Regions from separate parts of the Homo sapiens genome. Here regions 1, 2, 3, 4, 6 and 7 are each linked to region 5. Evidence: promoter capture Hi-C in 16 types of primary human blood cells and fetal thymus (Javierre and others, 2016). All regions are on one chromosome and are shown on one strand. The core of a region is centred on a gene start or on the middle of the fragment in contact, and the rest is flanking DNA. Distances in the headings are between cores, read along the strand shown.

Evidence for each region. Contacts are between HindIII fragments. The CHiCAGO score rates a contact against its expected background, and 5 or more counts as called.
Region 1: a fragment that was not itself captured here is called in contact with the fragment with the promoter of LCE6A in region 5 in 1 of 17 cell types (M2 macrophages); the score reaches 6.6 in M2 macrophages.
Region 2: a fragment that was not itself captured here is called in contact with the fragment with the promoter of LCE6A in region 5 in 4 of 17 cell types (M2 macrophages, megakaryocytes, M0 macrophages and 1 more); the score reaches 8.5 in M2 macrophages.
Region 3: a contact is called between the fragment with the promoter of SPRR2G here and the fragment with the promoter of LCE6A in region 5, in 5 of 17 cell types (M1 macrophages, M0 macrophages, M2 macrophages and 2 more). The highest score is 9.3, in M1 macrophages.
Region 4: a fragment that was not itself captured here is called in contact with the fragment with the promoter of LCE6A in region 5 in 4 of 17 cell types (M2 macrophages, erythroblasts, M0 macrophages and 1 more); the score reaches 7.5 in M2 macrophages.
Region 6: a fragment that was not itself captured here is called in contact with the fragment with the promoter of LCE6A in region 5 in 5 of 17 cell types (M0 macrophages, M2 macrophages, M1 macrophages and 2 more); the score reaches 9.1 in M0 macrophages.
Region 7: a contact is called between a fragment that was not itself captured here and the fragment with the promoter of LCE6A in region 5, in 4 of 17 cell types (M2 macrophages, M0 macrophages, endothelial precursors and 1 more). The highest score is 6.8, in M2 macrophages.

Annotation. Positions count from the first base shown.
Region 1 is chr1:153,282,969-153,287,086 of GRCh38, forward strand. No RefSeq gene overlaps it. Among named protein-coding and RNA genes, the nearest start is that of LORICRIN, 25 kb to the left of the region's middle. The HindIII fragment of the contact is 2,915 bases long and covers 1-2,902 here.
Region 2 is chr1:153,264,140-153,268,005 of GRCh38, forward strand. No RefSeq gene overlaps it. Among named protein-coding and RNA genes, the nearest start is that of LORICRIN, 6.4 kb to the left of the region's middle. The HindIII fragment of the contact is 1,606 bases long and covers 1,692-3,297 here.
Region 3 is chr1:153,148,214-153,152,176 of GRCh38, forward strand. It overlaps SPRR2G (small proline rich protein 2G), which reads right to left and starts at 2,677. Exons shown (of 2, transcript NM_001014291.4): 1 at 2,639-2,677; 2 at 1,369-1,918. The coding sequence starts at 1,897. The coding sequence ends at 1,676. The HindIII fragment of the contact is 711 bases long and covers 2,617-3,327 here.
Region 4 is chr1:153,177,277-153,181,462 of GRCh38, forward strand. All of the region lies in intron 2 of LOC101928009 (a long non-coding RNA gene), which reads left to right. It also overlaps a transcript of SPRR2G not described here. Among named protein-coding and RNA genes, the nearest start is that of LELP1, 24 kb to the right of the region's middle. The HindIII fragment of the contact is 461 bases long and covers 2,421-2,881 here.
Region 5 is chr1:152,840,820-152,844,960 of GRCh38, forward strand. LCE6A (late cornified envelope 6A) reads left to right here and starts at 2,037. Exons shown (of 2, transcript NM_001128600.2): 1 at 2,037-2,192; 2 at 2,681-3,164. The coding sequence starts at 2,702. The coding sequence ends at 2,944. The HindIII fragment of the contact is 3,660 bases long and covers 1-3,452 here.
Region 6 is chr1:153,223,102-153,227,027 of GRCh38, forward strand. It overlaps the pseudogene RPLP0P4. Among named protein-coding and RNA genes, the nearest start is that of PRR9, 7.5 kb to the left of the region's middle. The HindIII fragment of the contact is 8,208 bases long and covers 1-3,926 here.
Region 7 is chr1:153,240,833-153,244,966 of GRCh38, forward strand. No RefSeq gene overlaps it. Among named protein-coding and RNA genes, the nearest start is that of LORICRIN, 17 kb to the right of the region's middle. The HindIII fragment of the contact is 3,353 bases long and covers 1,156-4,134 here.

The DNA of each region.
Region 1 (4,118 bases), core at 195-2,694, 440 kb after region 5:
TAACACAACTGCAATGATCAATCAAATTAAGAAAAAACTTATCTGACTTGTCACCCCCTTGATGGGACTCAACTACCCCCAAGACAACATTTTTTTTTTTTTTTTTGAGACATTGTCTCGCTCTGTCGCCCAGGCTGGAGTGCAGTGGGGCAAACTCAGCTCACAGCAACCTCTGCCTCCCGGATTCAAGTGATTCTCCTGTCTCAGCCTCCCAAGTAGCTGGGACTACAGGCGCATGCCACCAGGCCCAGCTAATTTTTTTATATTTTTGGTAGAGACAGGGTTTCACCATATTGGTCAGGCTGATCTCAAACTCCTGACCTCAGGTGATCCACCCACCTCGGCCTCCAAAAGTGCTGGGATTACAGGCGGAAGCCACCATGCCTGGCCCCAGGAAAAAATTTTAATGAAAACATTGAAATTCTGCCAGTCTAGGGCTGACCTCTCAGAAATGTCCCTTTTTACACTTCTCTTTGCAGAAGAGCTTTTATTTCTGTACTTAGAACAAACCCCTGCAAATAAGAAAACAGTTTTCCCCAGTGCGATACAGAATGCTGTCAAAATGTGTTTCAAAGTCCCAACAAGTCACATTTGCATATTTACTCCTTCAGAATGCTCAGATAAATGAAGCAGGCTGGCTTTTTTTCACAGAAACCCTTTTGCTCTCCACAGCCATGCCAATCACCAATCACACGTCTCAGCTATGGGACTGTCTAGATCAGCCATGCCCAATAAGAGTATAATGTGAGCCACCAATGACAGCCTCAGAAACACAGAGGTACAGATTGGAAAGGAAGAAATAGAACTGCCTCTGTTCACAAATTATAGGATTGTCTATGAAGAAAATCCCAAAGAACTGATCAAAACAATACCTGGAACTAATAAGTACAACAAACAAAAGTCAATTGCTCTCCTATATACCAGTAATGAACAGTTGAAATGTGAAAATTCGAATAATACAATTTACAATAGTACCAAAAACAATAAAATACTTAGGTACAAATCTAACTAAAGGCTGGGTGTGGTGGCTCACACCTATAATCCCAGCACTTTGGGATGTCAAGGCTGGAGGATCGCTTGAGCCCAGGAGTTTCAGATCAGCCTGGGCAACATAGTGAGACCCCACCTCTACAAAAAAAAAGTAAATAAATAAATAAAAATTGAACTAAAGAGGTACAGGATTTATATGCAGAAAACTACAAAAGTCTGATGAAATAAAGAAAATCTAAATAAATGGAGAGATATATTCTGTGTTCAGAGATTAGAAGACACAGTACTGTTAAGATGTCAACTCACCCAAATTAACCTATAGATTTAACGCAATCCCAATCAAAATCCTAGCAAGGTATTTTACAGATCTTGACAGAATGATACTAAAATTTATATGGAAAGGCAAAAGACCTAGAATAACACAGTACTGCAGGAGACAAACAAAGTTCGAAGACTCACATCACCTGATTTCAAGACTTACTATAAAGCTATAATAATAAATACTGTGTGGTATTGGTGAAAGAATAGACATATATATCAATGGAGAGCCCACTGGGCCTTAGTGAACTTACCTTTAACAAAGGAACAAGGAAAAGGAGTCATTTTAAGAAATTGTGCTAAAATCATTGGGTGACCTATTTGAAAAAACTGAACCTAGACATAGACTTTACGCCTTTCACAAAAATGAACACAAATGATCATAGACGTAAATGTAAAATGTAAAACTATACAGCGTCTAGAAGAAAACATAGGAGGAAATCTAGGTAACCTTGGGTATGATAATGAGTTCTGAAATACAACACCAAAAGCACAATTCATGAAAGAAAAGTTAATAAATTGGACTTCATTAAAATTAATAACTTCTGCTCTGTACGTGGTAACGTTAAGAGAATGAAGAGACAAGCCATAGACTGGGAAAAATATTTGTAAAACACAATCTAATAAAGCACTTATATCCAAAATATGCAAAGATCTTTTAACACTCAACAATAAAAAAACAAACAACTTAATTACGAAACAGACAAAACATTTAAGCAGACATCTCACCAAATAAGAAATGCAGATGGCAAATAAACATATGAAAAGATGCTAAATATAATTTGTCATTAGGGAATTGCAAATTAAAATAACAATGAGATATTATTATACATCTATGAGAATGGTCAGGATCCAGAAAGCTGATAATACCAAATGCTGCTAAGGATGCGGAGCAACAGGAACTATCATTTGTTACTAGTGAATACAAAATGGTATAGCTCTTTGGGGAGATAGTTTGGAAGTTTTTTACAAAGTTAAACCTAGTCTTAGCACATGATCCAGTAATCATACTTCTAAGAATCTACCCAACTGATTTGAGAACTTAGGTCCACAAAAATGTGCAAGCAAATATTTATAACATTTGTGCCATTGACTAAAGGTGGTGCCATTTTCATCACATCATATCAAAGGGTACACACTATCACCATGACATCACTATTGGGTTGACCTTGATCATCTGGCAATGTAGCATTAGTCAGGTTTCTCCACTGTAAAGTTACTTTTATTCCCCCTTTGCACATGGCACTCTTTGGACGGAAGTCACATGTGCAATCCATACTTAAGGAGTGGGGAGTTACGTTCTACTTTCTTCAGGACAGAGGATCTACATAAATTATTTGCAATACTTTTTTCTCTTCTCTTCCATTTATTTATTTATTCAATTATTTGTTTATGTTGGTATGGAGTCATGGATGTTTATTTTATGCTCTAGGTTATAATCCAATACTAATTCATTTATGTTCTTGTTCAAATTGTTTGATTTTAGCTGTTAAGAACTCTTTCAGTTGGCTCTCATATTTTTTTATTTACCCCACCATTTTACTATTACTATTTTTGAGTAGTGCCTTACTTACTGGTACTATAAGAGGTTCCAAGCTTATATTGTATATTTCTTCCCAATCCTAGAGTCAGCCATTTCTCCAAGAAGCTTTGGTTTATTTCTTAGAGAATGGTACTAGAAACCAAGATCTGGCTACTAGGTGTGCTCATTGCTATCTCTGCACTCTTTCTCCCAAAATCCCATAACCCCATTCTCATCATGAGAAAAATTAGACAAATCCCAATTGAGGGACATTTTACAAAATGCCTGACCAGTAATCCTCAACATTGTCAAAGTCATCAAAAACAAAGGATGTCCCAGAAGCTGTCACAGCCAGGAGGAGCCTAAGAAGACATGATGACAAAATACCTGGTGACATCACTCAGGGAAAGCAAATGGAGAGGATCCTCATGATGGGGGAGGGAAAGGAGCCCTTAAGGAAAACAATGAAAAGACAAGAAGAAAGAAATCTGGAGGGTGTATTGCCACCAGAGCCACAGGAAATGAAAGGTTTCAAAAATATGTAAGAAAATAATCAGGTGTGTCAGATACAGTTAAGACTGTAAGAAGAGGAGTGAGTGACAACTGCCCCCTTGGACTTGGCTTTACGACGTCCTTAGGAAACCAAGTAAGAGCAATTTCAGTGGAGCAGCGCCAAGTGGGGGTAAGGGCATAAGTGTAGTGCAGAGTAAATGAGACGTGAGAAAGAGAATAATCTTTCTAGAGATGTGAGTGAGAAGAATAAAGAAGAGATTAGAAAGTAACTAGAGAGAGCAGTGGAGTTAAAACAGATTTATTTTTGTTGTTGTTTTGTCCAAATTGTTTCAGGATGAAAGAATCTTGAGTATCTTTATAAACTGTGAGCATGAAGAGAGAGAGTATGTGAAGATGCATTCAATATATTCATTCTACAAATATTTTTTTGATTCTTACTATGTACAAGAACTAGAAAACAAAACAGCTGAAAATCCCTACCCTCCACAGAGCTGACATTCTAGTTGGGGGAGATAAACAAGATAAATGGGTAAATACATTGTATGAAAGAGGGTGCAATAAAGCAAAGAAAGGAGACAGTGCTGGCAGGAAGGGGTGTTGCAGTTGTGGGTGGGGTGACCAGGAAAAGCCTCATTGAGAAAGTGGCACTTGAGTAAAAGCCTGAAGGATATGAGAGAGAGGGCTATGTGAGTATCTGAGGGAAAAGCACTGCAGGCAGAGGGAACAGCAAAGCTAAGACCCTGAGGCAGAAGCCTGCCTGGGATGGTCAAGGAAC
Region 2 (3,866 bases), core at 1,245-3,744, 420 kb after region 5:
GTTTGTTTGTTTGTTTGTTTGTTTGTTTGTTTTCAGTAGAGACAGAGTTTCGCCATATTGGCCAGGCTTCTCTTGAATTCCTGGCCTGAAGTGATCTGCCCGCCTTGGCCTCCCAAAGTGCTGGGATTACAGACGTAATCGCCGCCACGCCTGGCCTTATCTGTTAGGGATTTTAAAGACGACATTATAAAAATGCTTCAATAAGAAATTACAAACACACTTGAAACAATGAGAAAATAGAAAACCTTGGCAAATAAACAGAAGATATAAAAAGAGCCAAGTGGAAATTTTAGAACTAAAAATATAATAACCCATTATATAGTTAAATTTTAGAACTGGAAAATAAAAAACTCACTAGATAGGCACAATAGCAGAATGGAGATGACAGAGTAAAGAATCAATATCCTTCCACCTTCCACTATTTTACCCCTCCAGAGAATACAGCAACAGGCACTGTCTTAGAAGCAGAGAGCAGCCCTCCACAAATAATTAAACTTGGTGCCTTGATCTTGGCCTCAAAACTATGAGAAATAAATTCCCAGCCTCAAAAACTATGAGAAACAAGTTCCTTCTCAAAAATAGATCAATAGAAATTATTCCATCTCAACAACAGAGAAAATAGACTGAGGAAAAAAAAAAAACAGAGCCTCAATAAACTGTGGGACAACAAAAGTGTTAGCATTCGTGTCATCAGAGTCCCAGAAGGAGAGGAGAAAGGGTGTGATCCTGAAAAATTGTAGAAATAATGGCTCAGAATTACCCAAATTTGGTGAAAGTAATTAACCTACAAATTCAAGAAGATGAGTGAAACTCAAACAGGATAATCCCAAAGAAATCCACAATAAGAAATACCATAATCAAACATCTGAAAGCTAAAGACAAAGAAAAAATCTTGAAGAAGAAAATTTTGAAAGCAAATCTTGAAAGTAGAGAAAACTGACATATCATCTATAGGGGAACTATTATTTGAATGACAGCAGATTTCTTGTCAGAAACCAAGAAGGCCAGGAAAAAGTGTCACCACATCTTTCAAGTGCTAAAGAAGAAGAATTCTGTCAACCTAGAATTCCGTATCCAGTGAAAATGTCCTTCAGAGATGAAGGTAAAACAAAGATAGTTTCATATGAAAGAAAAATACGAAAACGTGATGCCAGCATACCCATCCTAAAAATGTGGCTAATGGAAGTTTTTCAAACAAAAAAGAAATGATAGAAACCAACGTGGAACATCAGGAATAAAGGAAGAACAGTGTGAAGTCTAAAACTATAGGACAGTATCTTTTTCCTCCTGAGTTTTTTAAAATTATGTTTGATAGTTGAAGCAATAACCATAACATTGATATGGCTATTAACATATGTATAGAAAATGTTTAAGACAGTTATATCAGAAATCAAGAAGTAAAGGGACTTAAATGGAAGTAAGGTCTGCAAATTCACTTAATAAAATGTCCGTACCAATAGATGATGATAAATTATGCATATACAATGCAATACCCACAGCAGCCACTAAAAAATCTGTATACATACAAACAGATCCACTCAAAAACACTATAGATAAATCAGAATAAAATTTTTCTAATGAGTGTACATTTTTATTATAGTATAGCATACATATATACAAGGGCACAAATTATAAGTGACAGCTCAGTTAACTTTTACCAAGTGAACTCATCCCAATAACTGAACCTCAGAAGCTTTCTTTATTCCCTTCCCAGTCATTAGCTCCCTTGAAGATACCATTAGATTAATTATGCTAGGTTTTGAAGGTTATATAAATATAACCTTACATGTGTCATTTTTAGAATTTATTTTTAATTAAAAGATAAAAATTATATATATTTTTGTGTAAAACGTGTTTTAAAATGTATACATTGTGGAATGGCTAAATGGAACTAATTAACATATGAATTACCTCACGCACTTATAATTTTTTATGGTGAGAACACCTAAAATCTACTCTCTCAGCAATTTTCAAGAATACAATTCATTGTCTTTAACCATAATCACTACATTGTAAAATAGGTTTCTTGAACTTATTCTGCCTATCTAACTGAAATTTTGTGTCCTTTGACCAGCATCTCCCCAGTGCTTCCCTTCCCCACCTCCAGCTCCTGGTAACCACCATTCTACTCTCTTTTCCTATGAGTTCAACTTTTTTAGATTCCATATCCAAGTGAGATCATGTGGTATTTGTCTTTCCATACCTGGCTTATTTCCCTTAACATAATATCCTCCAGCTGCATTTGTGTTGTCCCAAATAACAGGATTTTCTTCTTTTTAAGGTATTTTCTTTACTCATTCATCTCTTCATATACACTAGGTTGCTCACATATATTGGCTATTCTGAATAGTGCTTCAGTGAACATTAAGAGTGCAGATACCTCCTCAACATACTGATTTATTTTCTTTGGATATATACCCAGTAATAGGATACCTGGACCATATGGTACTTGTATTTCTAACTTTTTGAGGAATGTCTATAGTGTTTTCCATATGCTATGCTGTGTTAATGTATACTCTCATCAACAATGTGCAGGGATTCCCTTTTTTCCACATCCTCTCCAACACTTGTTGTGTCTCATCATTTTTTGATAACTGTTCTAATAGGTGTGAGGTTGCTATGGTTTGAATATGTCCCCTCCAAAATTCTGGTGTTGAAACTTAATGGCAAATGTGATAGTACTAAGTGGTAGGGACTCTAAGAAGTGATTAGGCCATGAGGGCTCCTCCCTGGAATGGGATTAAGGCACTTATAAAAAGGCTTTCCACAGCATTCTCCACACTTACCCTTCCACCTTCCACCATTTTACCTCTCCAGAGAATACAGCAACAGAAACTATCTTAGAAGCAGGGAGCAGCCCTCACCAAATAATCAAACCTGTTGGTGCTTTGATCTTGGCCTCAAAACTACGATAAATAAATTCCCAGCCTCAAAAACTATGAGAAATAAATTTGTGTTCTTGATAAATTAGTCAGTTTCAGGTATTTTGTTATAACAGCACAAATGAACTAAGACAGAGCTGATGTGTCATTGTTACTTAAATTTGCATTTCTCTGATGATTAATGATTTTGAACATTTTTGTATACCCGTTGATCATTTGTATGTCTTCTTTTGAGAAATTTATATTCAAATCCTTTGCCCATTTTTTAATTGGGTTTTTTTAATTACTATTGGGTTGTTTGAATTCCTTATACATTTTGGATATTAACCACTTACCAGATGTATGGTTTGAAAATATTTTCTCCATTCTTTAGGTTGTCTCTTCACTCTGTTGATTGTTGCCTTGGCTCTACAGAAGCTTTTTTGTTTGATATAAGCCCATTTGTCTATTTTGCTTTTGTTGTCTGTGCTTTGGGGTTCAACATCCAAAAAATCATTGCCTAGACCAGTGTCATGAAGCTTTTCTTCTGTTTTCTTCCAGTAGTTTTACAGTTTCATGCCTTACATTTAAGTCTTTCATCAATTTTGAGTTGATTTTTGCATATGATGTAAGATAGGGGTCTAATTTCCTTCTTCCACATGTGGATATCCAGCTGTGCCAACAATTATAGAAGAGACTGTCCTTTCCCCATTGCACGTTCTCAGCATATTTGTCAAAAACTGATTGACTGTAAATGTGTGGATTTATTCTCTTTCCTTAATCTATGTGTTTTTTCAATTTTGATGCCTTTTATTTCTTTCTCTTGTATAATTGCACTGGCCAAGACATCTAGTACTATGTTGAATAGAAGTGGCAAAAGTGAGCATCCTTGTCAGAGGCAAAGCTGGTAACTTTTCGCCATTGAGTGTAATGTTAGCTGTGGGTTTGTCATCAATAACCTTTATTGTGCTGAGGTACATTCCTTCTATATCTGATCTTCTGAGA
Region 3 (3,963 bases), core at 1,427-3,926, 310 kb after region 5:
TGGCCTGGGGGTTAGGAGGAACTGTCAACAACATTAAGCCAGAGCTTTATTCAACAGCTTACTGTTAAGACAATAACTTGGAGTTATTCTGTATTGCCTTGTGTAAACTTTACCTTCTAACATTCCTGTTGGGGCTTGGAGCACAGCAAGAACAAAATTCCCTAAGCATTCTGCTAGCTGCAATTTGATGAAACTAATCAAATATATTTCCCTTTAAGATGTGAAAACAGGTAGACCTACTTTTCATTTGGGCAGTCCCTCTTAGCAAAAGAGTTTTAATTAATTCCTCAGTTCTTTTCAACTTTTAAAAAAATATGTTTGAAATACCCTATGTACTTCTGGTTGAAATGCTATGCAAAAGTAATTATATACAATTGTTGAGTTATGTACAATAAAATTTCAAGACTTTGACCATCCTAAGATGGCTGTCAAACTTCAAGTATATATCGAAATCATGACTGTATCCTAGAGATCCAACCTCTCTGACCTCATTTGCAGACATTTCTCCTTGACCACCATTTTCCTTTTTGTTATTTTGTATTTCTTTTTTTTTTTTTTTTTTTTTTTTTTTTGAGACAGAGTCTCGCTCTGTCGCCCATGCTGGAGTCCAGTGGCACGATCTCGGCTCACTGCAAGCCCGCCTCTCGGATTCACGCCATTCTCCTGCCTCAGCCTCCCGAGTAGCTGGGACTACAGGCGCCCACCACCACGCCCGGCTAATGTTATTTTGTATTTCTTTAGCACTGGCCATTTCTTCCAACAGGAACAATCTACCCCTGATATACCCATGGCTCCCTCTTCTATTCATTCATGTCTTTGAGCCAAAAGTCACTTCAAAGGGTCTTTCTAAATAATTTTCTTTAAATATAGCCCATGTATTACTATAATTTGTCCTGTGTGTGGGAGGTGTGTGGGGGTCGGGGGGTGGGGGTGATATGTAACTCTCTTAAGACTGTAGACTCTATAAGAGCAAGGACTTTGTTTGGTCATCATTATCCCTATCAGCAGTGCATAGAAGACTGGCTGGCACATGATAGACAATTAGGAAACATTTGTGAATAAATCAATTGCTATGAGTACACTCAGCTGAATACATGCTCTCTTACTTTTTACAGATGATGAAACTGAAGCTAAGAGAGTTTAGGTAATTTTTTCAGCCATACAAGCTAGAAGGGGTAAAAATGAGTTTTAAACCAATAAAAGAGAATTATTTGTTGTACCGAATCCAAAACACACATTGCACGCAACACTGAATTCAGTGATGGAAAAGCCTAATAATTCTAATAATTCAATAGGAATGAAAAGGAACATTCACTTGGTGTAGTTAACAGAAGAGGTTAAAGACACGAAATGCAAACAAAAGCAATGTGGGCTTGACCATGAAACATGTGCTTTATTGGGGAGAAGCAAAAGAATAAACACACTTGCTCTCAGGATAGGAACCACCATCTACATCACAGACAGCAAAGCGAGATTAGGCAGTGATCTGGCTGCTCATCTTCCAACAACATATCGGTTTTCAGAACTAAGCCTTTTCTCTGTCAACGCTCAAGCCAGACAGAGGTTAGGGAAGATGCAGCCTCCCACTACAGCTGAAGGGAAGATGATGGAGTCCTGGGAGTAAGAAGAGCCACTGGATCTTGTTGTTTCATGGTCCTGATGAATTCTAGTGATGTTACTTGCTCTTGGGTGGATACTTCTGCTGGCAGGGTGGGTATGGTTGCACAGGAGGGCATTTATCCTGGCATGGTGGAGGTGGGCAATGCTCAGGTGGACAAGGAGGAGGCAGGTAAGGCTCAGGGCACTTCGGGGGTGGACATGGCTCTGGGCACTTTGGCGTGGGGCACACAGGAGGTGGCTGGCAGGGCTGCTTGCACTGCTGCTGCTGGTAAGACATCTCTCCTCAGTCTCAGAGAATCTGAAAGATACATACGAAACAGTGCTCATAAGAGAGACAGTCCTGTTGGTGGAGCAATTAGCTAGGACATCAAATCTCCAGTATCTAGGGACCAACTTTGATCCCTAATACAGTCTTTATGACTTTGTGAACCTTCTTCACACTTCACTTTTAGGACCTCTTACCCTCAGTTCTTCCGTCTTTCTGGCTGTTCTCTCATTCTACCATTTTCTGAAAATAAAATTGCCTATGAGACAGCAACAAATGTTGTCTGAATACAAACACTATCTGAAGAAGAAAAACTCAGATATTAAAAGTCTAGCCAATACCAAACAAATCTGTGCTCTTATCTTCCATGAGGCCCTAGTTACCAGTTTTAATGAGCTGGCTGTGGTGCTGAGCCATGAGTTTTTTAAGAGAATTGCAAAAACTTGCACCCATCACCCAAGGAGATTGCACTCCAAGAGAGATGTATTTGGAACAGATGTGAAGCAGGAGACAGAACAGCATCTTGTGTCTCTCACTCTCCTTCAGTTTAAGATTTTATATATTTGACTCCAGGTTCCTCATCACCTTCATGTTTATCTACCAAATACCAGCTAAAATTTACCTTCAAGACCTCATTATCTTCTTTTTCCTATCCATGAGGATAAATTGGTTAAAATAAACAGGCATTTCTGTACCCAGGTTAGACCCTAACACCATCCAAGTGCAAGAAAAGCTTCTAATATTTGTACTCACCAGAGTCTTCAAAGATCTACAACTGAATGGCAAGAAGATAGCATCAGTGTGGTGGAGAGTCCTTTTATAAGGGGCAGGCAGCCCTACACAGGGAACAGCCCAGGACTAGCATGATGTGCTTATTTCCCAACCAAAATACCACTTGCATGTAATCCATGCTGGTATCACAAAATTCCTAGTCCATGATCCTCCCCAGCAGGATAAGTGCACAGTGATTCACTTGGGACATTATCTCAGGTTCCTCATGCCAGTGGCAATTGTAGAACGTGACAAATTGTCTGACAATTGTGGTGCTTCCCTATAATTAGAGATGGTGCTTCTCCTACTTCCCAGCTTCCAAAGTATCCTGTATGTAAAACTACTCCCATTCAGTTGCACATGCCCAGTATCTAGCTGTGTTCTCTTTAGTAGAGACCAGTATGTGCTGATCCTGCAGCCTGGCTATATCCTAACCCTCAACTGCAGTTTTTCTTTACAACTAACTTCCCCTTTTATCATGGCCTATTGATCCTTAGGCTTTTCTTGACAATTAATTGACTTGAACAGGGTGACAAAATCATATATCAGCTTCCTAGATGCTGACAGCCCCAACCTGGGTGTGTTCTGACATGGTATTAATGGGCTTGAACAAGGCAACATCATCTCTCAGTTTTCTAGGCCATTAGAGTCATGTTGGGGCCCCTTCTTAAAGCTTCACATTTGCAGATTTACACACTAACCTCATCTCTGTGGCCCTTGTAACTATGAGTGACTTGTGGTCTACTAGAAATCCAAACTCATCTTCTCCCATTTTCTTCCAAACTGCCTTAATGTATGTGCTGCATCCATTTTGAAGCTTTTCTCCTACATGCTAATTCAATTTACTCCTTCACAATTTCTCTCTTTTGAAATGACATTTAGTAGGATTTCAGGCTTTCTTTGCACATTCGAGGAGTGAAGTTCTGTAAAGCTATTTATCCTGCTGTTTACTTCATGGATGTTTTTACCTAAATAAGTAAAGTATAGCTGGCACAGATCCCACGGATAATTTCTTAGTATAGCTTATTTAACCATATTAACACTTCAGCTAGTATTACTCACTGTCCCAACTTGGAAAAAACTTGAGTACCTTGGTTATGCATACATCTACAGCCACCACTACTGTGTGGAACTAAATATTTCCTAACCTCCTTGAAACACAGTTTACACAGCTGTAAAACAGAAATAAAAAATACACCTACCACAAAAGTCTCCTACAAAAACTCAAAGAGTGGCCTAAAATTATGCACATTACATAGTGGGTCTTCTAAGAAATATAAACTCTAAAATGTAGAAGAAATAAGAAT
Region 4 (4,186 bases), core at 1,401-3,900, 340 kb after region 5:
CAATTTGGGGCTATATGAACAAAGTTGTTACGAATATTTATGTACAAGTCTTTCGTGGACATGTTATTTCTCTTAAATGAATATTTAGGGGCAGAGCTTCTTGGTCATAGCATGGTTGTATGTTTAACTTTATAAGAAACCGCCAAATTGTTTTCTGCATTGATTGTGCCACCTTACATTCATACTAGCACTGTATGAGAGTTCCAGGGGCTCCACCTCCTTGCCACACTTGCTTTGTCATTAATTTTAATATTAGCCATTTTTGTGGGTCTGAAATGATATCTTATGGGGCTTTTTAACTGCATTTCCCTGACTGATAATATGGTTAAGGATTTCACATGCTTTTTGGTCATTTATACATTTTCACTTGAACATAAATGTAGGTCTATTTCTGAGTTCTTTATGCTTTTCATTTATCTATATGTGTATTCATACACCAAAACCACACATTCTTGATTGATGAGCATTTATAGTAAGTATTGAAACCAGATAGTGTGAGACCTACAACTTTGTTATTTTCCAAGATTGTTTAAACTTTTCTAGATTCTTTGAATTTCCATGTAAATTTTAAATTTGGTCCATTAAGTCCTCCAAAAAAAAAAGCCAGCTGGGATTTTTATTAGGATTGCAAGGAATAAATAGATCAATTTAAGAGGACTGATACATTCAAAATAGTGTGTTATCCAATATGTGAACCTATATCTCTTCATTTATTTGGATCCTGTCTAGTTTTTCTCCAGATTGTTTTATTATTTTCAGTGTAGCAGACTTACAAATTTTTGTTAAATATATTACTAACATTTTATCTTTTATGCTGTCATAAAGTTATTTCTAAATTTTATTTCCAATTGTGTGGTGATGGTTTATAGAAATATAATTGATTTCTATATATTGACCTTGTATTCTGTGGCCTTGATAAAGTTCCATATTAGTTCCAATACATATTTCTATAAGTTTCTTAGGAATTTCTGCATGGGCAATTATGCCATTTGTGAGTAAAGACATTTGTGCTTCTTCTTTCCAATCCATGCTTGTACTTATTTTTCTTACCTTATTGCACTGGCTGGAACTTCCAGGAAATGTTAGAATAGAAGTAGTAAATTGGGATATACTTGCCTTGTTTCTGATATTAGGGGAAAAATATTTCACAATTAATATAATGTTAGCCAAGGCTTTTCATAGATGACCTTCATCGCATAGAGAAAATTTCTTTCTATTCCTAGTTTGCAAGAGTTTTATCCTCAATGCATGTTGAATTTTGTCAAATGCTTTCTCTACATCTATTCAGATGATATAATTTCTTCCTTTATTCAGTTAATTTGGTGAATTACATTTATAATATTAAATAAACCTTGCATTCTGTGACAAATCCTCTTAATATATTGCTAGACTCAATTTACTGATATTTTCTTAAGGATTTTTGCTTCTATGCTCCTGAGGAATAACGATCTGTAACTTTCTTTTCATTTAATGTCCTTGTCAAGTTTCAATATCAGGGCTACGTTAACCTGAAAAAGACTTGGTGAATATTCCCTCTTTCTCTGTTTTATGAAAGAAATTATGTATGATTGAAATTTTTATTTCTTAAGTGTGTGGTATAATTCACCAGTTAATCCTTTTGGACCTGGGGCATTCTATATGGGAAGGTTTTAAACTATGGGTTTTATTTCTGTAATAATTTTAGAGATTGTCTCAGTCAGGGTACAATGAGAGGAACAGAACCAGTTGGAAATGTACTTCAGAGATTTACTACAAGGACTCAATTTATGTGATTGCAAAGGCAGCTAGGCAAGTCTAAAATCCAGAAGTCAGGACATCAAGAGGGTAAGCTGGAACTCTGTCATAGGCTGAAGCTGTAATCCACACATATAATTTCTTCAGGGAAGATTTAGCTTGGCTTTTAAAGCCTTTCAACTGATTGAATCAGACCAGCCTGTATAAACTAGGATTTTCTCCCTTACTTAGAGTCAATTCATAATGGACTTTAATCACATCTACCTTCACAGCAACACCTAGATTAGTATTTGATTGAGTAACTAGGGACTGTCATGCAGCCAAGCTGACACGTCAAAAGACCATCACAGGGCTGTCAAGTTTTCATTTATGTGTTAGTTTTTTATTTTCAAGGAATTTGTGCTTTTCATCTAAGTTGTAGAATTCAATATGAAGTTGTTTATAATATCCACTCATTTTAAATATAACAATGTCACGCCTATCATTTGTGAAATGGTTTCATTTTTAAATATACAATATCATCGTGTGTGTGAAGGTACTCATGCCACAAACTAAATAAGGATAATAATGTTTGAAATAATGATAGTAGTCATAATAATAATTTTTAAGACCTAGGATTCATCTCTTATTCCTCTTTTCCTCACCTCCCACATACTACTTCTTCCTAGATCCCAAGTTCTGCCTTAAGCTTATTATCACTTCTCATCTTCTCATTATCTTCAATGTTCTTACCCTAATTAGAGCCACCATCACCCTCACCTGAACCACTGCAGAAGTTTCCTATCTTGTGTCCTGATTTCTATCTTGTCTCCGTATTCCTATCTTGTGCCACAGCAATCCCATATCAGAACAACCACAGCAATCATATAAAATATAGAGAAGATTATGTCCTCCCTAATTGAAATGATCAAATATCTTGCCATTGTATCTAGAGAAAAGTCTGAAGACCTTACTGTCCTACAAAGCACTTCATGCTGTGGCACTGACTCTTATGCTGACTTCATCATATCTTTCTTTCCTTGTTCACTAAGTTGCAGGAATATTGGCATTCTGGTGGCTTCCTTCCCTTTAAAGTAACCTTTTAACTGACTAAAATTGAAGTATAAATTAATAAAAGCTCACCAAGTACAGGTATACAACTTAATAAAGCTTCATAAGCTAAACAACCATGCAACCAATGCACAAATGAAGAAATAACATGTTACCAGCATCTCAGAAGCAGTCCACCTGGGAAGCAGGTTCTCAAAAGCAGTCCGAGTCACTACCAGCCCCCAAACATTAACTTTTTCCTGGCATCTAACACTGTACATTTGTTCTTCATGTTCTGAACTGTATATAAAGGGAATCATACAGTATGAACTCTTTGGTGCCTGGATTTTTTTTCCCCAAAATTGTGTTTGTGATACTGATTCATTTTCTGGTTTGTAGATATAGATCGTTGATTCTCATTGCTGTATGGTATTTCTCTATGAGAATATACTACCATTTATGCATCCATTTTATTGCTAAAAGGTATTTTAGTAGTTTCCAATTTGGAATTTTTAAAAATAGTGCTAATGTGAATATTTACGTATTTGTCCTTTTGTGACTATATGTACACACTTCTGTTAGGTACATACCTAGGAAAATATAATGACTGGGTCAGAGGATAGGGATATGCTCAGCTCTAGTGAATACTGTTAACTTTTCCAAATTCTTTCTACCATCTATTATTCCCATCAGCAGTGTGTGAAAGTTTCAATTGCTCCACACTCTGTCTAAACTTGGTATTGTCTATCTTTTTTCGTGTTAGCCATTTCGGTGGCTATGTGGAGATAACACGTTGTGACTTGAATTTGCATTTCTCTTATGAATGGTGAGATTAAACTCTTTATTATATGTTTATTGGAAATACAGAAATGCCCTTTCATGAATTGCCTGTTCAGGTTGTTCAGATATTTTTCTATTTGCTCATTTCTTGTTTTTTTGTTGATCTGTGAGTAGGAACACATGTGTATATATGTTCTGGGAACAAGCCCTTTGTTAAATATAGATATTACATACAGCTTCTCCATCTCTGTGGCTTGGCATTTTGCAATCTTGGTGGTGTTTTTGATAATCAGAAATTTTTAATTTTAATGAAATCCAATTTGTCATTTTTCCACCTTATTGGTATGCTTTTTATTACCTGATTAAGGAATCTTTCCTATTGACAAGATCTGAAGACATTCTCCCAGAGTTTAGAATTTTGTTTGTTTGTTTTTGGTTGTGTAATATATTTTTATTTTCTATGGGTACATAATATACATATTTATGGGGTACATGTGACATTTTGCTACACACATAGAATGTATAATGATCAAGTCACAGTATTTAGAATATCCATCACCGTGAGCATTTATCGTTTATCTGTGGTGAGTACATTTCAGTTCCTCACTTCCAGATATTTTGAAAGATACAACACATTCTCATT
Region 5 (4,141 bases), core at 787-3,286:
GGCCTCAAACAGGCTCACTTAATGAGCTAGGCAAATCTAGATGCTGGACACACTCCATCCTATATGTGATGAAATTCACTGTACTGAAAAGGAGGGGGCTAAGAGATTTCTGTGGGCAATTTATTATGGGAGGTGGTCTGGGAGAGATATAGAAGGGGCAGGAAGTGTAGTTTGCCTAGGGCAGAGCCTCCAGAAAGAACCCTCAGCCCTAGGCAGAGACAGTAAGGGTTGGGTACTTGCTAGTTAACTTCAAAAAAATGCATTTGTGATGTGTGAGGTCTCTGAAGCATGTGTTTAAGTGGTGCAGGTCTTGGGTGGGGAAAAGGAGCAACTGGTGCATTGAGACCAGTGTTACTTTGCCTTCCTGCTAATGCTTAGTGCAAGGGAAGCACTTCTGAGGCACCATCAGAGTTATTTCTGGTGTCTGAGGGAAGAAAAGAGGAGAAAGAGAAGGAGAGAGAAAAGGGAAAAGGAAGTAAAGGAAGATGGGGTCTATCCCTGAGGCTGTCTAAATCAGGCACTCTCTCTCCAGGGCTCTGCTCTAACAGAGTGAGCGAGGTTTCATACCATTCTTCCACCTGCTGTTTCACTCACAAAGATCTTCTCTTCCTCCATCCAAACTGCATCTCAAAGTTTTCCCAGATGAAGCAATTGAAACCTGATGATCCTGCCCTGCTGGATTTTGGGATCCAATAGCTGCTCCTTTTCTGGCCTTGTCCTATTTTCCACCCTGGTCTTCATACCCTCTCCCATACCCCAACCCTACTCACCTTTGTCCTATACATGATTTGAAGGCCTTTGAGGACTGCCCCTACAGTCAGAATGTTCCTTGTAATTGCTCATCTTTTTATTTACCCAACTGTTTCCTGAATACCTACTGTGTGTCAGGCATCAGAAATACAGAGGCAGGTGAGGCACACTCTTGAGCAGCAGGGAGTTTCATCAGTGCCTTTTAACTTAGCTGGGCACACCAGGAGCGATTCTGAGATGGAAGCATCCAGAGGTGAGGGACTGTGTTTAGAGAATGTTCCCAATTTAAGCACTGCCAAAACATGATTATCTCAATTTTCATGAAAGCTAAAGAAGAACTTTTCACTCTGTGGAAGGCTTTTCCACAATGTCCCTTGATAATTCCAAGAACAGCTCCCCTTTTGCATTTAAGAGACAGCAGGTGTGTGAAGGTTTTGCTTCCCACCCTCTGCTCAGCCTATTGTGTAAGGTGAGGTCCACCCACAGAGTTCCCTGTAGTATTTATGAAAGGGTGTTCACAAATGCCTTAGGGGAGAATGATGGAAACAAGAAGTCAAGGTCTCGTCCACAAAACAAAATGAGTTGGGCTTTATTTTATTCCTGTTTTTTTCTCCTGAAACACAAAGTCTTTTCTAATGGCACATAGACTGTTTCATTCAACAAATACTAATGAGTATTTTCTTTGTGTCAGGAACAACATCAGGCTCTAGGAATGCAGAAGTGATAAAGGCACTGTCATCAAATAACAGTTTAATAGGTGAGATAGGATATGTATCTTGGTCACACGACCCAAAGCAATAGTAAAGGCTGTGACATGTATCTATAAAGGTCAGAGGATGAAGGACTCATGTGTGGCTAGAGCAATGGGCCAATCTCCACAGAGGTGATGACACGGAATGGGATGCTGACAGTCATGGATGATGGGTGGGGAGTAGACAAGGAAGGTCTTCCTCAGACCCTGGGTGATGTCGAACCTGATTTTTCCCTCCAATCCTACATAGAATTCAACAGCAGCTGCAACCCGCCCAGCCTCCCAAGGACATCATCCAGATTAGCCAGTGTACCCACTTCTGCGTAGGCCAATCTGAAGGCCCCAGCCTTCTGCTCACTCACGCACCTGCAGATGCCTTTGAACCACATCCCAGCTACATGTAGCTGAGGAATCTAGCACTGGGAATTGTGAAATACCCAGATCAATCATCCACTCCATGGCTCTCCTCCAATGACATGTGGCCTGGAGGCTTCAACTGGAGGATATATAAAAGAGCCTCTTACTTCCTGGCAACACAAGGCCTCCAGACTCCTCCTGGGATAACTTGTCCACACATCTTCCACTAGGGTAAGGCTACTTCTGGCTGAGGAGACACTTGGATGTAGCTCAAGTGCTGCTTAGGCAGTCCTGATCTCTCCTCTCGTCTCTTCCCAGGGAGCTGAAAAGCCAGGTAGGAGATGCTTGGGGTAGAAAGAAGGGAAGAGAAGTGGATCCCTGCAAAAGAAAGACCCCAAATAATCTAACATGGGAGAAAGCCATAGAAGTTAGAGGGCCAGAAAAGCAGAGATGGGACAGTCAGACTTAGGAGTCTGGGGACAGAATAAGACAGAGTAAAGAAAGAGCAGAGACTTGGCTCTCCTTTGCACTTAACCAGGTGGACATTGGGCTGGGAAAAGTAAACTGTCAGCTCAACTAAGTACAATTTGTCTTTTTTTTTTTTTAAGGAAGCATATATCATTAACATGGTTATTAGTAAGTGAGTCCCCTGGGAAGATTTACTCCCAAATATTTAGTCCTTTCAAGTCCGTTTTTCTCCTCCTGAGATGGAGTTCAGTGGGTTGTAAATGCTGGACTTCATTTTTGACAGCTCCAGTTTGTGGAGGAGAGAAACAGAAGCCCAAGCTGCCTGGGTCCCTGATATAACTATTTTTCTTCCAGATTCGACCTGGTAGCCAAGCAATGTCACAGCAGAAGCAGCAATCTTGGAAGCCTCCAAATGTTCCCAAATGCTCCCCTCCCCAAAGATCAAACCCCTGCCTAGCTCCCTACTCGACTCCTTGTGGTGCTCCCCATTCAGAAGGTTGTCATTCCAGTTCCCAAAGGCCTGAGGTTCAGAAGCCTAGGAGGGCTCGTCAAAAGCTGCGCTGCCTAAGTAGGGGCACAACCTACCACTGCAAAGAGGAAGAGTGTGAAGGCGACTGAGCCCAGAAGAGTTGAGGCACAGGTGCAGTTACTCTCTCCCTGCCCCACCTTTGGGTACTAATTCCCCCTTGGAAAGCCAGGCCCTCAACCTCTCATTTGGACTGAGAAACACTTCCTGATCCCCAGCTCTAGAGAAGCGAGAACTAGGCTGAGCCACGCTGCTACTGCTCTCTTCCATTCACCCCTTCAGCTCAGCAACAATAAAGCTGCTTTACTTGGAGCCCTGACTTCTGTGAGTTCTTGAGACCCCTGCTCAGATGTACTGAGACCCCCGCTTCAACCCAAGTGCATGGTGCTTCTCCTCCTTCCTCTTAAGACAGCTGATAGTATTTTTAAGAAGCAGATGTTCTGGGATTTATGTCCCAGTTTCCAGCAGCCTCACAGCCATCAACCCATGTCATTGCATGATTCTAGCACCAAAGACTACAATAAACATATGTTGAGCACCTACTGTGTACTGGCCTCTGTGTTTACAGATGTAAGTGGGAAATTTGTCCCTGCTCTAGAAAGCTTATAATCCAGTAGGAGATGCAATGGACACTTCAGATAGAAACAAGTGGATTAGTAAATATCATTTTAAGCTGATTAATTTACTCATTTTTATCTCTCATTTGTGTTCAAAAGAACTTAAAGCAGAAATTTAAAAAGTACCTTAGGTCAAAGACAGCAGAGAGAGGAGAACCATTCTGATGGTGTGGATCAAATGTGGTTTCCTAGGCCTTGGAAGGAAAGAGAGTATCCCACTTGGGAGTGGGGAGAAGAGGCTCCCAGACCTCTAAAGATAGCAGACTTTGGTGCTAGGAGGTGCAGTGAAGAGGAAAGTTCATCCAGGTGGAAGATCCAGCATAAACAAATGCATAACAAGGGTGGTACTTGCCAATGGTGTGTATTTCAATTTGGCTGGAGTGCCAGGTGTGAGATGAGAGATATGACACAGTTCATAACCCCAAGTCTTCATGATAATTCAAACCAGCTGAGTTTACTGAGCTTTAGGTATCAAACACCAGCTACCAAAAGATCATACCTCTGGGAAAAGTCTGGGCCCAAACCCCAAGTCTAGTAGTCTGAGATGAGGGAAGCATGACATAAATTACACAGACTTGAAGGGGACTTGAAGCTCAACTATGATGCATATAAATATAAGTTTATGTAAATAATTTTGTTGATCTGCATTTTTGGCAAGACATTAAAAGCATT
Region 6 (3,926 bases), core at 485-2,984, 380 kb after region 5:
TGAAAGAAAATAAGTGGCCAGCTGGCAGGGCCTTCTCAACTCAACCTCCCTCATCACCCGGTTCCCAAGCCAGCCTCATAACCTGTCTTTCCTCCTTTAGAAGCCGCTGGGGACCGTTTCTCTTCTCTTCCCAACAGCACCACCTGCTGGCCATAGAGGCACTTGGCCTTCTACTAATCACACCCAGTCTGGCCTGAGTTGGAGATGGCCGCACACACTCCGGCCGTCAGTGCTCCATGTGGAGAAGACAAGAGTACAGAGATGCAGCATCTAACAGAGTCAGAGGAAGGCTATATGTGCAAGACAGAGTTACACTATTTATAGGGTGGGAGCAACACGAATAATGGTTCAGGACATAGGCTCAGGAATCAGACTTCTGGAATTCAAATCTAGACTCCACCACTTCTATTGTTCCCTTAAAACAAATTTCTCCTATGTGAGAGTAAGTGACACAGAATCTCCTATGAGCCAAGCACTGGAGTTACAGCAGCGAACCAGATACACAGAATCCCTGCCTCCCAGAGCTCACATGAGAAGGAAGACAGACAAAAAGCAACTCAGCAAATGCATAAATAAGAAAGTGAAAATGAAGAAAATGAAACAAAGTGGTGAGGAGAGACCAGAGAAGAGGGGTGCTCTTTAGCTCGGGTAGCGTGGAAAGGCCGATCTGAGATGGGGATGTCGGAGTAGCGACATGAACAATAGGAGGAGCCATCCATGTGGGATCGGGGTAAGTATCAGCGCAAAGAGAACAGCAGGTACAGGGAGTACTGCAGGTCAGACTGCCCCTGGAGCCTTAACTCGGATGCTGCATTTGAAGGTAGACCCTGGCCAACTTTTAGTTCATCCAAATTAATGTGAGAAAAAGAGCGAGGTCTCTGGGCACCTTGTCACATGAGCTGTGGCTGAAGGAAGGGGGCGTTTCATCCAGAGATGAGGAGACTTAGAGACACACAGTGGCTGTCTTCAGGCCTGTCAAATGTCAAAGAGAGAGGCAGTGGATATATTCTTTGTGATCCCAAGGAGAATAGCATGGATCAGTGAGTTCTGGGCACAGAAAAGCAGATTCTGCTCATATCAGGAATAAAATGGCCCAGCAAATGAAATGAGCTGCTCATGAAGTAGTGATCCCACCATCCATGAAATATGCAAGCAGAGACCAAATAAGTAGCTGAGATTATAGGAAGTGTGGATGCAATGCTTTTAATCTTTAATTATCACCTACTCTTGCACTTGAATTGCTTATAGGTTACCACAAGATTTTGCTTCTCTCTGAATACAGTAAAATAGCCTTTGTCAGCCAGTCCCTGAAGGGATGTCCGCCCCAGGGTTGGGGAACATCACAGCAAGGCAGGAGAAAACTGGCTGTTGGGTACAGAACACGCTTCTTGTCAAACCCGGAGCAGACTCTGGCAAAGATGAAAAGCGGAGGTCCTCACCTCCCTTTCATATGCTCCCCTTTTCTGTCCCAGCACCAGAAGATGGAACTTCCTTTTCCTTACAATGGTCTAAGAAAAAACTAGTCTAAGCAATTAGAGAAAATATCCTACAATTCCCAAGTCCTAAAAGTTTTTATGTTGCACATCCTGGTAATAAAAATATTTCAGCCTCACCAATAAACATATAAAAACGGTGTTCAACCTCTCATTATTCATCAGAGAAATGCAAATGAAAACCTCAAAGAGATACCACAACACACCGACTGGAGGGGATAAAAGTAAGAAGACAGAATCACAGTGTGGGTGAGGTTGTGGGAGTGCAAATTGGTACAACCACTTTGGAAAACTCTTTGACGGTCATGACTAAAGTAGAATGTATACACAGCCAATGACTGAACAATTCCTCTCCTAGGCATCTGCCCCGCATACGGTCACCAAAACTCAAACATTAGAATGTTCATTCTAGCTCTCATCAGGCATCCTTGTGAAAGTGGCATCACCTTTAAACCCTGCATGGCAACCCCTGACACACTGCCAGGCTGCCCAGGGAATACAGGGCAACCTGGAAGTCCAACTACTTCCTTCAGATCATCCAATTTTTCAATCATTATCTGAAATGTTTCATTGTAGAAGCAGCAATGTGGGCTCCAAGTAGATGCAGCAGATCCACATGTCCCTCTGAGGGAAAGCCATGGTGCCAATGGGCAAGAACACCATGATGTGCAAGGCCATCCAAGGGCACCTGGAAAACAACCCAGCTCTGGAAAAACTGTTGCCTCATATCCAGGGAAATGTGGGCTTTGCGTTCACCAAGGAAGACCTCACTAAGTTCAGGGACATGCTGCTGAATAGTAAGGTGCCAGCTGCCACCCATGCTGGTGCCATTGCCCCATGTGAAGTCACTGTCCCAGGCCAGAACACCGGTCTGGAGCCTAAGAAGACCTCCTTTTTCCAGGCTTTAAGCATCACCACTGAAATCCTGAGTGATGTGCAGCTGATCAAGACTGGTGACAAAGTGGGAGCCAGTGAAGCCACACTGCTGAACATGCTGAATGAACATCTCTCCCTTCTCCTTTGGGATGATTATCCAGCAGCTGTTTGACAGTAGCAGTATCTACAACCCTGAAGTGCTTGACATCACATAGGAAACTGCATTCTCACCTCCTGGAGGGTGTCCGCAATGTTGCCAGTGTTTGCCTGCAGATTGGTTACCCAACTGTTGCATCAGTACCTCATTCTACCATCAATGGGTACAAGCAAGTCCTGGCTTTGTCTGTGGAAACTGATTGCACCTTCCCACTTGCTGAAAAGGTCAAGGCCTTCTTGGCCGATCCATCTGCCTTTGTGGCTGCTGCCCCTGGGGCCACTGCCACCACTGCTGCTCCTGCTGCAGCTCCAGCCAAGGCTGAAGCCAAGAAGAGTTGGAGGAGTTGGATGAGAATATGGGATTTGGCCTATTTGACTAATCACCAAAAGGCAACCAACTCAGCCAGCTTTATTTGCAAAACAAAGAAATGAAGGCTTACTTCTTTCAAAAAAAAATGTTTATTCTAGTGTTATTCATAATATCCAAGTATCAGAAAGAATACAAATACCCATCAATGAATAAATAAACGGTGGTATATTCAGACAATGGAATTCCATACAGCAATGTATACAAATGATCTACAGCTACACACAGCAATAAGGATGAATCTCACAAACATAAAGTAAGTGGCCAAAAAAAAGACACATAAAAAAGCATTAGGATGAAACATATGAAATTGCCATTTATGGAGGTCAAAAACTGTTCATAGGGTTCAACATAAAACACGCTGTATAGTTCCATTTATATCATTTATGTACAGTACAAAAGCTGGCCAAATAAATCTCTGTTGTAGACAGTAAGAACGTGGTTGTGTGTGTGTTGGTTGTAGTAGCGTGGTCATTGGATGGGAGAAGAAGGAAGGTTTCTGTGTTGCTGGTAACATTCTATTTTTTTATCTGGGGGCTGCTTATCTGGTTGTGTTCAGTTTGTGAAAATTCATTGAGGTGGACATTTACAATATATGCACTTTTCTGAATGCATATTTTAATAAAGAGTTGAAAGTTCTATTGGGGTTCATCATATAATACATACATATTATTTAGAAGCAATAGATATGTACTGTCATTCTAACATCATGAAAGTTAAAAGACAAACACAAAATACAGACAATTTTAAAAGAAAAGATAAAAATACATAAAGAAAAAATTCAAATTTTTTCTTTCTGCTCCCAATGAATAGTTTTATGCACCCTCAGTGAACAATCAGCTCTTCTGGAGATTTTTTATAATGAAGTCCTGGATTACGTAAATGCTGCATGATCTTTGGCAAATCTCCCAGCCTCAGTTTCTGCATCTGTAAAATTGCACTGATGATCACCCACCCATCCTAGATGGCTGTCCTCAGGATCGAATGAGGTATTTGTGGAAGTATTTAGTAATTTGTAAAATGTGAAGGGTTAA
Region 7 (4,134 bases), core at 1,582-4,081, 400 kb after region 5:
CATCACAAATAAGTAATTATATGTATCTACATTTTGCATTTAACTATATTTGCATTTATCTCATGTGTGTTGCAAACACCAGGGGTGCTACTTATGGCAACTTTATCGGCAGATCCCGCAAAGTTTAAGAATGTATTCTGTGCCTGTAGTGTAAATAAAGCAGATTGGTCAATTGGGGCTTGAAACCAGTTTTGTTGTTGCTGTGTTAAAACAAACTAAATGGATGTCCCAGAGATGAGCTCTATCACAGTCTGACAGTAAAAAGGGTAAAGTGATAATAATTCTATAGCTGTAATAATTGTCAATCAGCCCTACAATAATACTGATATTAACATTCACTGATTGTTTCCTGTGTGGTGAACAGAATACTAAGAGCTTTACTGACAACACTCACAACTGTCTAAAGGATCTAACGCTTATGGCTGTGTGACCTTGAGTAATTACTTTGCTTTTTTTGCCTCCATTTCCTCATGAGTAAAATAAGTATAGTTATCGTACCTAAGCCTCATAATGATTAAATGAGTTATTATATATAAACGTTTAGAGGAGGGCCTAGCACATAGCAAGCCTCCCAAAAATGTGATCCCTCCTCACCCCCAAAGTTAATCTGAATCTGAATTAATTGGTCCTGGGATCTTCTACCTCAGAGTTTGCTGTGTGGCTCAGGCTGCCAAGGGAGTAGAACTAAAACCAACAGGTGGAAGAAACAGAAGGCAGCTATCTACTCATTATAATTGTATCTTTCCATTAAAGCCTTTAATGTGATAGAATTCAGCAATTTTACTCCTTATCTTTTTTTTTTTTTTTTTCTTGAGACAGAGTCTCGCTCTGTCACCCAGGCTGGAGTGCAGTGGCGAGATCTCGGCTCACTGCAAGCTCCGCCCCCCAGGTTCACGCCATTCTCCTGCCTCAGCCTCCCAAGTAGCTGGGACTACAGGCACCTGCCACCACACCCGGCTAATTTTTTGTATTATTTTTAGTAGAGACGGGGTTTCACCATGTTAGCCAGGACAGTTTCGATCTCCTGACCTCGTGATCTGCCCACCTCGGCCTCCCAAAGTACTGGGATTACAGGCGTGGGCCACCTCGCCTGGCCTATCTTAAGAAACTATCATTCATGTGTACAAGGAAGCATATATAAAAAAAAATGCTTGAAGCTTTGTTTGTAATAATGAAAATCAGAACAACCTACATGCCCATCGATTTAGGAGTGGCCAAATAAACTGTGGCAGATCCAACCTATAAATTACTAAAGAATTGTGATAAGGAATAATGTTGCTTTATGCCTGTCAACAGCGTGAGCAAGGCAGGGTTCTAAGTTCTTACCTAAATTTACTCATCTAATCCTCACAAGACCCTGTGGCTATAGGTATACCACAATCCCAATTTATAAAGCAGAGAAACTGCGGCTGGAGGGTTTAAATAATTTGTATCATGCAACTAGCAAGTGACAAAGCTATGATCTGAGTCCAGGCAGTGTGGCCCCAGGCTCCATCCTCTTACCCTTCATGCTAATTTATTGCTGAGTGGGGAAAAAAGCAAGCAGCAGAAAGACACACAAAATATATAATACTATTCAGGTAAAATATACACACAACACAGTACCATGTTGTTTCTAAATATGTACATAAAGGTGAGAAAATGATCTATTTTAACAATCAAACCAATTTACAACATTGGTTGCCCATGTGAAGGTGCTAAAGGAACAAGGATTGGCAGTGATGACCAGGAATAATTTCATCTTGACATATAACGTCTTAAATTTTAAAACAAAATGTGTTCCAGTATTATAGAATGACTTAAAATTTATAAAATAAAAATAGTCAGAAGGAATCACCTACTTCAGGATTAAATGAGTTCCCTAACATAAAAAGCATTAGCTTAGATTTCTACTCTTGAGGAACTCTTCAGGGAGGGATTCAAGCATCAGTGAGGGATTGGACAGGAAAACCACCCCAGCTGGTTGGTTACCAGAGAAACTCAACATGCTCCCAATTAAACTCAGTATCTTTTACCCTCAAACTTCTTAATCCTCTGGTCTCTCCTAGTTCCATAAGACATTGCTTACATTTACCCAGTGTAATTATAATTCTGTATAAGTTCTGTTTTTCTAACTCTAACTTCTTTATTCACATAAAATAACTTTCACTATTCTTCTGAAAGCCTTTAATAATGTGAAGATGGCTATTTATCCCTGTCTTCTCTCCTCCTACTTCCACTTCTACCACCATCACCGCCACCACCACCGCCTCTGCCACCTCCACTACCATCATTTCCACCACCACCATCACCACCACCACCACCATCATCCTAGTTGTGGTGGTGCTGATAAGAACTAGTGGTAATGGTGATGATAGTGGCTGTAGCAGTGGTGGTGATGATGAGAATGAATCAAGGTAGCAATGTGATAGATTGGTGCTGGTGATGGTGGTGGTGATGGTGGTGGTGGTGGTAATGGTGGTGGTAATGGTGGTGTAGGTGGTGGAGGTGGTGGTGGTGGTGGTGGTGATGGTGGTAGAAGTGGTGGTGGTGAAGGTGGTGGATGTTGGTGGTGGTGATAATTGTAGTGGAGGTGGTACAGGTGTTGGTGGTGGTGGTGATGGTAGTAGAAGTGGTGGTGGTGAAGGTGGTGGATGATGGTGGTGGTGGTGATAATGGTGGTGGAGGTGGTAGAGGTGTTGGTGGTGGTGGTGATGGTAGTAGAAGTGGTGGTGGTGAAGGTGGTGGATGATGGTGGTGGTGGTGATAATGGTGGTGGAGGTGGTAGAGGTGTTGGTGGTGGTGGTGATGGTAGTAGAAGTGGTGGTGGTGAAGGTGGTGGATGATGGTGGTGGTGGTGATAATGGTGGTGGAGGTGGTAGAGGTGTTGGTGGTGGTGGTGATGGTAGTAGAAGTGGTGGTGGTGAAGGTGGTGGATGATGGTGGTGGTGGTGATAATTGTAGTGGAGGTGGTAGAGGTGTTGGTGGTGGTGGTGATGGTGGTAGAAGTGGTGGTGGTGAAGGTGGTGGATGATGGTGGTGGTGGTGATAATTGTAGTGGAGGTGGTAGAGGTGTTGGTGGTGGTGGTGATGGTGGTAGAAGTGGTGGTGGTGAAGGTGGTGGATGATGGTGGTGGTGGTGATAATTGTAGTGGAGGTGGTAGAGGTGTTGGTGGTGGTGGTGATGGTGGTAGAAGTGGTGGTGGTGAAGGTGGTGGATGATGGTGGTGGTGGTGATAATGGTGGTGGAGGTGGTAGAGGTGTTGGTGGTGGTGGTGATGGTGGTAGAAGTGGTGGTGGTGAAGGTGGTAGATGATGGTGGTGGTGGTGATAATGGTGGTGGAGGTGGTAGAGGTGTTGGTGGTGGTGGTGATGGTGGTAGAAATGGAGGTGGTGGAGGTAGTGGTGATGCAGGTAATAGAGGTGGTAGTGGTGATGATGGAGGCAGTGGAGGTGATGGCAGTGGTAGTGCTGGTAGTACATGTTGGTGAAGGTGGTGAAAGGTGAGGATAGTGGTGGTGGTGGGTGGTGGTGGGTGATGGTGGTGGAGGTGGGTGATGGTGGTGGTAGTGGAGGTGATGGTGGTGGAGGTGGGGGTCGTGGTGGTGGAGGTTATGAAGGTAGAGGTGGTGGTAGTGGTGGTGGTGGAGGTGGTGGGGTAGCTGTGGGTGATAGTGGAAGTTATGATCATGGTGATGGGTGATGGTGGTAGTGGTAGAGATGGTGGCAGTGGTGGTGTTGGTGGTACCTGATGGTGGTGGTGGTAGAGGTGAGGCTAGTGGTGGTGGAGGTGGGCGATGGTGGTGGTAGTGAAGGTGATGGTGGTGCAGGTGGTGGAGGTGGTGGTGATGGTGGGTGATAGTGGTGTTGGTGAAGGTGGTGGTGGGTGACGGTGGTAAAGGTGGTAGTATTAATGACAATCAGAATGAGTGCCAGTGCCATGACAGTAGTCGTGGTGATGGTGATGATGACACTGGTAGTGGTGATGGTGGTGGAGGTCACAAAGGAATAAGAAAACAATCTATTTTAAAGAAAAACAAACCACTGTGCCTACAACACAGCGCAGCACGTTGACATGGCAGTGATGACAATGGTAGTGATGGTGCAAAAGGTAGTGGATGTGATAGTGGTGGTAGCAATGGAGATGGGGGAGGT